Regions from separate parts of the Homo sapiens genome. Here region 1 is linked to region 2. The links are contacts of gene promoters, found by promoter capture Hi-C in blood cells and fetal thymus (Javierre and others, 2016). All regions are on one chromosome and are shown on one strand. The core of a region is centred on a gene start or on the middle of the fragment in contact, and the rest is flanking DNA. Distances in the headings are between cores, read along the strand shown. Region 1 holds the start of MAP4K3 (mitogen-activated protein kinase kinase kinase kinase 3). Region 2 holds the start of ARHGEF33 (Rho guanine nucleotide exchange factor 33).

The links. Contacts are between HindIII fragments. The CHiCAGO score rates a contact against its expected background, and 5 or more counts as called.
Region 1: the fragment with the promoter of MAP4K3 here is called in contact with the fragment with the promoter of ARHGEF33 in region 2 in 13 of 17 cell types (naive CD8 T cells, neutrophils, total CD4 T cells and 10 more); the score reaches 11.6 in naive CD8 T cells.

Annotation. Positions count from the first base shown.
Region 1 is chr2:39,433,114-39,439,333 of GRCh38, reverse strand. MAP4K3 (mitogen-activated protein kinase kinase kinase kinase 3) reads left to right here and starts at 2,049. Exons shown (of 34, transcript NM_003618.4): 1 at 2,049-2,442. The coding sequence starts at 2,347. It overlaps MAP4K3-DT (MAP4K3 divergent transcript), which reads right to left and starts at 1,918. Exons shown (of 6, transcript NR_037875.1): 1 at 1,799-1,918. RefSeq lists silencers at 1,796-2,015, 2,086-2,445 and an enhancer at 2,776-2,855. The HindIII fragment of the contact is 5,405 bases long and covers 1,073-6,220 here.
Region 2 is chr2:38,887,425-38,894,152 of GRCh38, reverse strand. It overlaps ARHGEF33 (Rho guanine nucleotide exchange factor 33), which reads right to left and starts at 4,278. Exons shown (of 18, transcript NM_001145451.5): 1 at 4,167-4,278. The HindIII fragment of the contact is 7,511 bases long and covers 622-6,728 here.

The DNA.
Region 1 (6,220 bases), core at 800-3,299, 550 kb before region 2:
GCAGTGGCTCATGCCTGTAATCCCACCACTTCAGGAGGCCGAGGCAGGCGGATCATCTGAGGTCGGGAGTTCAAGAGCAGCCTGACCAACAAGGAGAAATCCCATCTCTACTAAAAATACAAAAATTAGCTGGGTGTGGTGTTGCATGCCTGTGATCCCAGCTACTTGGGAGGCTGAGGCAGGAGAATCGCTAAGAACCCGGGAGGCAGAGGTTTCAGTGAGCTGAGATTGCACCCTTGCACTCAAGCCTGGACAACTAGAGCGAAACTCCTTCTCAAAAAAAAAAAAAAAAAAAAGGCAGAGGAAAAGAGCAGACCTGGCTTCCATTTGGGATAATTTGTCAGGTCTGCTTATCTGAATCCTTGGCTAATTATTCTTGCGCTTGGCCTAAACATGCCAAACAATTCTCCAAATGTGGACAAACTGAAGGAAGGCCTGTAATCTGGGTCCTGGGCAAGTACCTTAAACAAGCAAAAGCAAGACCTTTGGCTATGGAATAACATTTATAGTCAGGAGTTTCTCAAGATACCAGAGCCTGAAGGTAGATCCATCGAGAAGATATTCAATGATATGCACTCCTAAGGCAATAATTTAAGTGATACTTTCATATTACTGATGCTTTAAAATTTAATAATTAAAAATTACACAACTGAAAGGCTACTTATATAGGTGAAGAGATAACCATTTTCAAACATCAATTTAGTCAACAGATACTCAAAGTAAACAATTTGAGAATTTAGTACATATGCAATTTTCCTATGAGCAAAAGGATTCAAAAGATTTTTTGAAAAAGTATGAAGCAGTTAACTCTAAGTAGTTTGCTCTACTATTAATTTATTATACTTATCCTTAACAGGTTTGATGAGACCTAGTTTCTCAGGAGCCACGAGGTATTAGGGAATATTAGTGGTTAGAAGGTGTGGTGCCTAAGGGGATTAGGAAAGCATTTCTGAAGCAAAACTCCAACGTGGTATTGCCAAAGTGGCCATCACCTAATTGATTAAAGCTCCTGCAAATGTCTATTGGGAAGTTCAATGAGAACAGAAAAATAACCTTCCATTACCCTCAAGCTTTCTTGGGCAAGTATTAACAATCGGAGCTGGAGTCCACATAGCTCAGATGTAAGACGCGCAATCTGGGTCTTAAGCAGGGTGGGGTTTTTGGGTAGGTAAGGTCACAGCTAAAGAGCTTCCGGATCGTCACGTGTTTATATTTCAGGTGCGGTAATAGATCTAGTCCACTCTCCACCCCTTCTTTACAGGGTTGCTTGACAGCCTGCGCAGTCCCCGCCCGTCTTTGATAATCCAACCCTCTTCGAAGAGGGAGGTCAATCACTGCTTTAGTTCTGCGCTCTGCCTGCCTCCCACGCGGGATGGTGGGCAGCTGTTCCGCGTGTTTTCCTCCCGGAGCTTTCACGCTCTGCCCACTGCACACACCTCCCTCGCGGCCCTCCTGGCCTGCCCTCCTTTGCACCCTGGCAGGCCAACTCCAAGGGTCCGAGTGTCGGTGACAGGGGCAAGCAAGCACAGCTCACTTTTCCTGGGGGTTTTCCTCACGGTGTGTTTAGTGACCCCTCCCCGCAATCCCAGAAAGGCTGCAGCACTCCATGGTATCCTACATGTAGCTGCTTCTAAAATAATAAAGGCTGGGACATTGGCTGTCTTGGATATTACCACTATGCTACCTGCTTGGAACTGGGACCAGATAGACCAAGGTCCAACTTTGTCGTTAGGGGAATCAGAAACGAAAAGAAGCCACTTTCTGCTAGTCCTAACCCCGGTCCCTGGGCCAGGCAAACCTTTTCAAGCGTCCGGCGGCAGCGGCCGGGCGCGGGTCCGCAGAAAAGCCGAGGCGTTTCGGGTCCCAAGCTGTTCCGCCGCCGGCCCCGGCCTGGCAGGCGCGCGGAGCCGGAACGCGCAAGGGGTCGGGTGCGCGCCAGGCCTGGCGCGCTCCCTCCGGGATCGCGGCTGCGCAGTCGGGCGGGAGTCGGGAAAAGGGGAGGAGGTTGGAGGAGCCGGAGTAAGGGGAGGGGGAGGAGCGGCGAAAGCGGAAGCCATGTTGGAGTTTCACCCCGAGCGAGGGGCTGCGAGGGTTCTCCTCTCCTTGTGGGTGTGACCAGGTTCGGCGCGGCGGCGGGCCGCGGGGGGCGGGGACGATTGGCCGCTTGTCGTCGTCCGCAGCGGCGTGAGGGGAGCGGCGGCGGCGGCGGCGGCCGCAGCGTGGAGCCGGGTGATTGTGACCGCCGGGGGAGCCGGGAGCCGGCCGCGGCGCCCTCTCTCCGTGTGGCCCCCTGAGCGGCCCCCCTCCCCTGCCCGGGAGGGAGGCGGGGGGCACCTGGGGCCCGCCATGAACCCCGGCTTCGATTTGTCCCGCCGGAACCCGCAGGAGGACTTCGAGCTGATTCAGCGCATCGGCAGCGGCACCTACGGCGACGTCTACAAGGTAAAGGCAGGGGCCGCGCGCCGCCGAGGCCGTGGGATCCCGACCCGCAGCCAAGCCTGGGCGTCCGAGCCCTTGCCGCCTGTCCTCGGGAGACGCTGGCGCCAGGGAGCAGTCGGGGAGGAGGAGCTGCGGACGCCAAGGGCTCTGCTGCCTTGGTGAACAAAGGGCCGAATGTTTAACCCCGAGACCTCCCCAGCCCTTACCTGAGCCCCCCCGGTGGACATGATTTTTGCCACCTCCCTTCTTGCGCGCATTTCCAGGGAAGGGCAGAACGAGAGCAGGCCACACTGCTCATCCATAGTGCAGAGAAGGTCTGGGCGTTTGTTGCGTTGGCAGGGTCAGCGCGACGAACCGGACAGCAGGGGTCTGGTGTTGTCAAACCTGCCTGCTTCACGCCAACCTGGGGTCGTCCGCTCTAGGTTGGGAGCTGCTGCCCACCAGGCCTCGGTGGTAGTTATTATACTATGCTGAGCGACCTCCATCTTCCATCGACAGCTCTCAGCCTTTAGCGCCTTATTCATCCCCCTGTCAGTTTCTTTTAATTTTCCAGAGTAATGACTTTTTTTTTTTTTTGGAAAGAGCAACTTTGTTTTCTCTAAGTCGAATTGGACTGCGATGCCATTTAAACTTGTTTTTTAAAAAGTGACTTGAATACTTAGGGAAGGTACTGGTTTGACAAGGTTAGAATTCAAAGTCCAGTAGCGGTACAGCATTCCTGTTGTAGAGGGACCACTTCTAAATGTGGGAAGATAAATCACTCTTCCCTGGCCAACTCAACTCTTGGCCTCACAGTTACTGCCAAGAAGAGAGGAGGTTGTTGCCAAATGTGGCAGCAGTCTTGATTTAGTTGTGTATCTTCTTACTGGTAACTGAAGTTGAACTCCTCCAGTTTCACATAACACCTGAGGATGCACAAAGAAACTTAATTTTGCATTGGAAAGTTCAGTCTTAACTTTATTTTGCCCATGTTTAAGCAGGTTTTTACTCTTCAGTGTAATGCCTGTGGTAACTTACATATTTAATACAGTGCAGCCAGTGTTCTGCTTTAGTCTGATTTTCTGGATGATCTACTTTTCACCATCGTGGATCTCATCACTTTTCCTACTATGCAATATAGATATATTGAGCCCACCTACAATGTATGAGATACTTGGCAAGTAAGCACTTTGGGTTGTAGCAGTAAACGATAGACTTGGTTCCAAATCTTCCTAAGTGTTTCTATTTTTTTGGACAAGGACAGTATTAAATAGCCATTTAAATAATTATTGCCGTTTAATTTTGTGATGCAGAAAAGAGTATTAGGATCAGGGTTATGAGAGCATGTAATAGGAGGACCTGATCCTGTTTAGGGTATCAGACGCTCATCGCCTTTCAGCTGAGATCTCAGAGATGATTAGGCGTTGCTTAGGGTACTGGGGAGAGGGGATTACGCCAGATAGGGGAGCATGATATGTGAAGGCTCTGAGGCCCGATGTGAAAGAAGGCCTGTATAGCCTGAGCAGCCAGAGCGGGAGGGTGGCCCTAGATCTTGCAGGCCTCTTAGTTCTCATTAGGAGATCGGACTTGTTTAGGACAATGGGGAACTATTGCAGGCTTTTAAGCAGAGGAGTGACATTAGATTTAGGTTTTTAAAAGAGCTCCCTACTACAGCATGAAGAGTGGAATGGAGCAGTTGGGAGGCCACTGTGATAGTCTAGGTAAGAATAATGGTGTTAAGGAATATGGTGATGACTGTGAAAGTAGAAGTGGATGGATGCAAGTCACTTATGACTGGTTGGGGGAGTTCGCTTATATTGCGATGAAAAGTTAACTAAAACTCGATGAATGTATACGTTTTAGGTGGCAGGGTATACAGTGAATTTTTTTACAGGACTAATTGGCTGTGTACTTGCTATATTAAAAAGAACAGTTAGTAGTTAAGCCACATGATTAAAAAGCAAAAAAAAATTAGGGCCTGTAATTTCCTAAGTGTAATAGAGGTATACTAAGTTGGTTAATCTTGTCATTCGTTTAAAATAATGATAATACTAGCTGATGTTTATGGAATGCTTGTTACTTGCCAGGCACTATAAGATTTTTCTAATTAATCCTAACAGCAACCCTGTGAGATAGGTGCTATTGTTAACTCCATTTTGCAGTTGAATAAACTGAGGCACAAGGAGATTAACTTGCCAAAGTTGGTAGGTGGCAAAGCCAAAATTTGAACCAATTAGGGACTGTATTCTTAACCAATTGGCAGTGCTGCCTCTCTAAAGATAGGAGATGGGCAGATAATGTATTACATTTCCAGTGGAGAAACTGAGGCACACATTTAGTTTAGCATTTGAGTTGTAGCCACACTCTGAGTCAGTGTAGATCTTTAAGTAGTAGTTGGAATACCTAATTCCTGCTGTGCCACAAGGTCTCACTGTTTATGTAGTCTGCCAAGTGGATATCAGATAATAGATGCTTGGTCCCTGCCTGCCAGACTCTTCCAATACCAGTGACCAAAGCAGAGAAACTTCATGTGGTTCTTGACATCATGTACCCCTGCCTGCCAAACTCTTGTTTATGTTTTTGTCTATAATCAAGTTTATTCTATAAAGTTACATTTTTTTGTTATTTGTTTTGCTGTTTTAGTTTTTTCTTATTTATACAAATTAATTGTGCTAGAGAGAAGTACATTTTGTTTTCAAAAGCCAATATATATAATTTGTTCCTTAATTTGTCAGCATTTACGTGCTAAAAATGGAATGATTGGATTAAATAAATAAGAGATCCGATTATAGTCATTCTTGGAAGGTTGGTGGAGATTTTTATTTTGAAAATGTTTTCCTACTCAATGTAATAACATATTTATTGTACTTAAGGTGGCGTGGTTTAGTTCCAAAGCACTGAACAAGGATGTGGACAATCTGGGATTTATTAGCTATGTGACCTTGTGAAATCAACCTCTCAGAGCTGTTTTGTTGTGGAGATATTATTACCATCATATGCCCTTCTTCTTTTGGTATTGACTAAATGACTCAAATTTTACTTAGTAAGTAAGTTATCTTTATTTTTTTCAGGCCAATGCATATATACATTTTATCTGCACTGTCTAAAGTCGTATCTTGTAAGTGTCGTGTAACTCTGCAGGCTTTATCTGTCATGAAGTGCCTGCAGCTTGGGTTACCTAGGGACCTAGGAGCTGGCAACTGAAGCTCTTTAGTTGGGCCTCAGGAGGCCCATGGAGTGCTCTGAAATTAATAGGCTTAATGTTGTATGTATTTGTGTTTTTCTGTGGAGATGGGTTATAGCATTCATTGCATTCTTAAAGAGCTTCATGATCCAAAAAAATGAAAAAATGATCCATAGGTTTGCCATTCAAAAAAGTTTTCTTGGAGAAATTAGGTAGTTATAATAGATCATAATATGATTTTCACATGCATTGTGCCATCTTTTGTCAGGCAGTTTTCCAGTTTAATTTTTATTATTCCTACCCTTTAAGTCTTGATGTCCTTATGTTTTTCTAGATTTTTTGCTAGAAAGAAGCAGGAGATAGTAAAGCTGGAGATGGGATAAGGCAAAAGAAGTTTTGAAAGAATAGTCTCAATATGGTTTCTGAGGAAGTATCTTACCTAGTCTTATGGTTTTAGTCTGGTCCCTGTGAATGATTCCTAGCCTGTGTATCCAAGACTGGATACACAAAGACTCCAGGCTGTAAGCCTTAGAGTCATCTTTAGTGACTTCTGGACTGGGCTTCTTAGGCATTAGCTAAATTCTGTACACAGGCATTTTCCAAAGTGTGGTTGGGGTG
Region 2 (6,728 bases), core at 3,029-5,528:
GAGATGGGGTTTTGCCACGTTGCCCAAGCTGGTCTCGAATTCCTGGGCTGAAATGATCCCAGTGTCTCGGCCTCCTAAAGTGTTGGGATCAAAAGAGTGAGCCAGCCTGGCAAGAACGATTTTTAATTCTGGAAAGTTTTCTTATATTTCCTTGGAGCCTATGTGTGCTTTCTGCTTATTAACAACAGTCTTCAGTCTTCAGTCTTCAGACTTTAGAAGTCTTCACTCCAGCCCTTGTTTGTGCCCTATCTCCCTTGAATTGCCTACATTTTAGATACTACTCACTCATTTGAGCTCTTCAGATAGAAACCTGGAAAATGAGGTAACTCACTTGGGAAAAAAAGAAAGAAAGTTTGGCTAAAATTAAGTTTTTAGGGGTTTAAACAGAGTTCACGTGCATTCAACAAGTATTTAATAAGCATATACCACATAAAAGGCATTGTACCAGGTGCTAGGAGAAATGAAAGGATGCCATTGTTTCTGCTTCCAGTCTAGAAGGGAAGATGAGACACATAAATAACTGTAACATATAATGGATTGTGACAAATGAAAAAGAAAAGTGTAAAGTGCCTAAAATTTTCAGAGAAAAGATGAATTCCCTTGTGGGGATTAGAGAAAGCTTCATTAAGAAGATAGGATTTGAGCCAGGCTTTGCATGATATGTAGAAACGGTCAAAAGGGGATCACCAGAGGGGCCAGGCACAGTGGTTCACACCTGTAATTCCAGCATTTTGGGAGGCTGAGGCAGGTAAATCGCTTGAGCTCAGGAGTTCGAGATCAGCCTGGCCAACATAGTGAAACTCTGTCTCTACTAAAAGTACAAAAATTAGCCCATGGTGGCGGGTGCCTGTAATCCCAGCTACTCAGGAGGCTGAGGCAGGAGAATTGCTTGAACCCAGGAGGCAGAGGTTGCAGTGAGCCAAGACTGTGCCACTGCACTCCACCCTGGCAACAGGGTGAGACCTTGTCTCAAAAAAAGAAAAAAAAAAAAAAAAGGATTACCAGAGGAACAAAGCACAAGGCCTAGGTGGATTTAGGAACCCTAGGGAGCAAAGAAGGTAGAGTAGAAGGTGAGGCTAGACAGGTAGATTGGGGGCAGATAGAGAGCCTTGAATCTCTTCTTTGGAGCTTGCTCTGCAGTGGAGAGAATGAGTCATTGAAAATGTTTAAGCAGAGGTATAACAAGATCACATATCTCTGGTAAGAAGATGACTTAGTGGCACTGTAGAGGAAAGAGCAGCTGCAAAGAGGCCAGTGAGCAGGCACCTTTAATAACTCAAGTAAAAGATAATGATGACCTGAATTAGGGAAGTGACTCTTAGAAAGGAAAGGAGGGCACAGATAGAAGCGACATTTCAAAGGTTGCTCCATGAGCCAAATGTATGCTTCACCCAAGAAAAAGAGTTGGATAGTCACTCTCAGATTCAGAAGGAGGAAATATGTCATAAGATAATTTTTAAAATTACTCTAACTTATTTGAACCAGGAGACTAAAAGGAGGCTGAATATGCTATAATAATGAACTTGGTTCTACAATTTTAGCAGAGCCTTAACTTTTGTTTTTGTCAATTGGGGGTGCACTGACTAACTCTGCTAGGAGATGGGGAAAGCACATTTTAAAATGTCTCAAAAAAGAAATACAACCATCCTTTCTTTCCCATTGTTCATCCTTTGCCCGGGTGTTATGGTACTTAGCAGATGTCAGTTAGGTTTTTCTACTTTTCCCCAGTTATCTGTTTACCCACCTTTAGGCATCATCTCTACCCACCCCACCTACTCACACACTCCATAAAAAACCCAGTGAAAATTACGAGGAGGAGATTTTTTTAGAGAGCATAAGAATTTTCCAGTATTTGCTTCTTCATTGCTTGCTAAAACCATGCCAGCATAGCCTGGGGAAAGGTGGAAAGGGCTGGCATTGCCCCATATAAGGGAATTATATCCTCAAATCATTTGAGATAAGTAGGCCCCAAAGACAAATCCAAAACAGCTACTCCCTCATTCTCAGGAAATAAATTCTAGAGATTTCCTCAAATGGATAAATTTGAGAATCCGATTAGCTGCCACTTTTTCTTTATTTTTCTGATTATTTTAGGAAGACTCAAACAGATGTTAATACTTACTACCCTGTCTTTTTGTCAGTAAAGGCATGAACAGACAACAAAATAATCATGAACATACCAATCAGAAGAGTGCTCTCTGTAATATTAGCATTTATGATTTGTTTCGTTCATCTTATTTGGGGCATTCAAAGTGCTTTACAAATAACATAATGAGGGTTTTTTTTCCTTCCATGACTCCCAAGGTGATTCCTGGCACTCTCAAAAGGCACAAGTGATTAGTCAAGTCCTTGGGGCCCAGCAGCAGTAATGTGATGCATGTTGGTTAAACTGTGTTTCACACTCATGTAAATTGTGTGGGGGGCGGGTGGGGAATCTTCCACACTGTCCTTGAGAAGATTAGCAAGAATTATGAATTTAAAGATTCTTACATTTATAAAAATCCAAACAAAGAGAAATATTGAACAAATCATACTCCAGTCCTAAAATCAAAGTCTAAGGGTCTTAACCTGTGGTCCCAGGAATAGGGTTTCAGGTCACCTGTAAATCTTCTGAAATTGTATGCAAAATTTTGTGTGATTTTACTTTTTTTTTTGCAGAAATGGTGGACTGGTTTCTGAAGATTCTAAAAGCAATTCTTGACACCGAAAAGGTTAAGAACTGCTGTCATTAAAGAAAAAGAAAGGAAGGAAGAGGGAGAGAGGAAGGGAGGAAAGGAGAGAGGAAGGGAAGGAGGAAGATCAGTTGATCTTTGTATCTACATTACTTAGTTTATTACTGGCCTGCTATGTTGAAGTACACCCTTATACACAGAGAAAAGGGAAGGTAAATAAAGGGAATTAAGAAAAAGTTAACAATAAGGCCGAGCATGGTGGCTCACACCTGTAATCCCAGCACTTTGGGAGGCTGAAGTGGGAGGACTGCTTGAGATCAGGAGTTCAAGACCAACCTGAGCAACATGACGAAACCCCATCTCTACAAAAAATACAAAAATTAGCCGGGTGTGGTGGTGTGCACCTGTGGTCTCAGTTACCTGTGGGGGCTGAGGTGGGAGGATTGCTTGAGCCCAGGTGACAAAGTGAGACCTTGTCTAAAAAAAGAAAAGAAAAAAGAAAAAAAAAAAAACCAATAGTATGGTCATCTTGTTTCAAAAGCCTCTGAGTTTTCAAATGAGTTTAGATTGCATTTCCAGAGCCCATGGTTATGAAAAATGTAGACATTAATTAATTCAGTTTGTGAAAAATGTTTAGAATAAATGTGCATCAAAAACTTTTTTCTCTAGGATACATTTCTGATCATTATGTTGAATCCTTCAGAAGTAGCCTTCAATGAAATAGCTATTCCATTTACAGCAATATGATTTTGTATTAAAAGGGGCTATTAAAAATATAAAAGGGTGATATAGAGATTTCTACATATTCAGAATACTATTTCAGCATATAAAAACTCACATAATTCCAATACTAATTATAATAGAACGCTATTCTCACTTAAGACAATGTTTAAGTGAAACTCAGTTCTTCTCATTACACACCAAAGCCCCATGAAGTGTTTAGAATTAGGTTTCACCAATAAAGCCCCCATGTAATTAATCAGTACACATTTTCAATCAGGATATGTTTTTTGTTCTGTACATAGGGGAGTGAATGCTGAAGATTCCCCTATTCTTTTTCTGTGTTAGAAAGGAATAAACCAATCTCCCTCCATCCCTAATCTTTTTCATTCTTTAATTATTCTTAATCCCAAAGAGGCATGTCCATGTCAGATTTACGCTGTCTAGCATCCTTTCTTTAAGACTGCTCTCAAAATTTAACTCATCTTCAACTATATTTATTAATATGCAGAACAACTTCAGTCTCCAGTTTATCGATAACCTGCAAAGCGCAGTTAAGACATAATATAAAAATTAAGCAAGGAAATAAATGTTTTACAAATTGTTATAACTCTTAAATAAAAGTTATTTCTTTGAATGCCTACCTCAAATAAATGTTAGCATATATTGGATTTAAATTAGTACACCACGTGGTAAGGATTGATGGGTTTTCATCTCTTATAAAATTGTTTCCCCTTTCAGTGCCCCTTAAAGCATATAAAAGCGCATACTTACCCCATGTTGCCTGCGGTGGTTATATCATCCTCAGATCAAGGCTTATCTGGGTTCTGAATTAACTTAAAGGTTATAAAAAGAAGCAGTAGAGAGGCTTGACTTCCCCTGAAACGAGACCGTAGTATGCTAACCAGGCTTTTAAATGAGGAAAACTAGTGTCTCTTCTAATTATATAAGCTCCAGGTCAAATTCTAGCATCAACTAATCAAATAACTGAACTGCATTTAGTTTCAATGAGTAAAAAGGAAGAAACCCATTTAGGAGGAATATCTTTGGTATACTAGAAAATTGAAAAGTTGTACTTTGAAAAGTTATTAACATAGCAATACAAGTTAAATATTTTAAGAGTAAAATATATATCTTGCTGCCTTAAATAAATTGAAAAAAATTAGGGAAAATTTATTTTGCAGCAAAGCAGATACTTTTCTATATTTTCCAGAAGTTTTTGAATTTAAATTATATGTCCTGGTCCCTGAAAACATCTTCTCACCTTATCTTAACTTGTCCAGTATTTGTCTCTTCATGAATTTCCATATAATAATAATATTTAATTCTAAAGCCATGCCAGCTAATGTTTAGCAACATATACAAAAATGTCCAATTCTTAAAATGTGTCTTTGAAAACTTACAAATAGGGTCTTTCAAAATTAGCCATAAAGCTATTATTATGAGAAACTAACAAAAATGCCATTTTTATTTTAACATTTTAGAAGACATTGTAACCCAAATTTGTGCCAGTACAGCAAAAAATAAAAATATACATCTTTTGGCAATAACATATTGAGAAATACAAATATTCACAAGATTTTGAATAGAGAAATATGACAAAGAAGTTATCTATTGTGTACACTATTTTTTGTCAGTTTTAGAATATAGAGTTTCAGCAAAAACATTCAGGTCTTTATTGTAATTTTTTAAATGTAGTTGACATATACTGCTCTGGTAATTTTTAAATTATCTTATGTAAAAAGTAAAGAAGTTTTCTGGACATAGAATATATGACAACACACAGATCTACTTTTTAAGAAATTGAGACATAATTTACACATCATACATAAAATTTGTCCCTGTTAAATGAACAATTCAGTGGTTTTTAGTACATTTTCAAGACTGTGCAACCATCACCACTGTCTAATTCTAGAAACCTCATGCCTCCCAATTTCTTCCTCCCCTGGCAACCACTAATCTATTTTCTGTCCCTAAGGATTTGCCTATTCAGAGCATTTCACATAAATGGAATCATATAATATGTGGCCGTTTGTGACTGGTTCCTTTCACTTAGTACAATGTTTGTTTGTTTGTTGTTTTTGAGATGAAGTTTTGCTCTGTCACCCATCCTGGAGTGCAGTGGCATGATCTTGGTTCACTGCAACCTCTGCCTCCTGGGCTCAAGCAGTCCTCCCAAGTAGCTGGGACTATAGGCATGTGCCACCACACCTGGCTAATTTTTGTATTTTTTGTAGAGATGGGATTTTGCCATGCTGCCCAGCCTGGTCTCAAACTCCTGGCAAGCGATCCACACACCTTGGCATCCCAAAGTGCTGGGATTACAGGATGAGCCACCTGCCTGGCCAGTACAATGTTTCTGAAGTTCATCCATGTTGTAGTATCAGTACTTCATTTTTTATGGCTGAATAATATTCCATTATGTGGACATTTTGTTTACACATTCATTAGTTGATGGACATTTGGATTGTTTCCAGTTGGGGCTATTATACATGTCTTAGTCCATTTGAACTGCTATAAGAAAATACCTTAGACAGGGTAATTTTAAACAACAGAAATGTATTGCTCACAGTTCTGGAGGCTGTTAAGTCCAAGATCAAGGCACTAGCAGATTTAGTGTCTGGTAAGGACTTGCTCTCTTCTTCAAAGATGGCACCTTCTTGCATCATTCTCTTGTGACAGAAGAAGCAAGCAATCTCCTTCACATCTCTTTTATAAGGGCACTAATCCCATCCATGAGGGCTCTGTCCTTATAACCTAATCACCTCCTAAAGGCCTCAACTCTTAATACTACCACAGTAGAGATTAGGTTTTTGTTGTTGTTGTTGTTGTTTTTAGACAGAGTCTCACTCTGTTGCCCCTGCTGGAGTGCAGTGGCGCCATCTTGGCTCACTGCAGACTCCACCTCCCAGTTTCAAGCAATTCTTGTGCCTCAGCCTCCCGAGTAGCTGGGATTACAGGCACACACCACCACGCCTGGCTAATTTTTGTATTTTTAGTGGAGAGGAGGTTTCACCATGTTGGCCAGGCTGGTCTCAAACTCCTGACCTTAAATGATGCACCCACCTTGGCCTCCCAAAGTATTGGGATTACAGTCGTGAGGAAATTAGGTTTAAACATGAATTTTGGAAGGACACATTCAGACTATAGCAATGAATAATGTTGCTATGAACATTCGTGTGCAAGTCAATTCCCTTGCGTACATACCTAGGAACTGCTGAGTCACGTAGTAACTCTATGTCTAATATTTTGAGGAAATGTATTCCACAGCAGCTGCACCATTTTATATTCCCACCAGAAATGTGTGAGGCCTCCAATTTCCCCACATCATTGCCA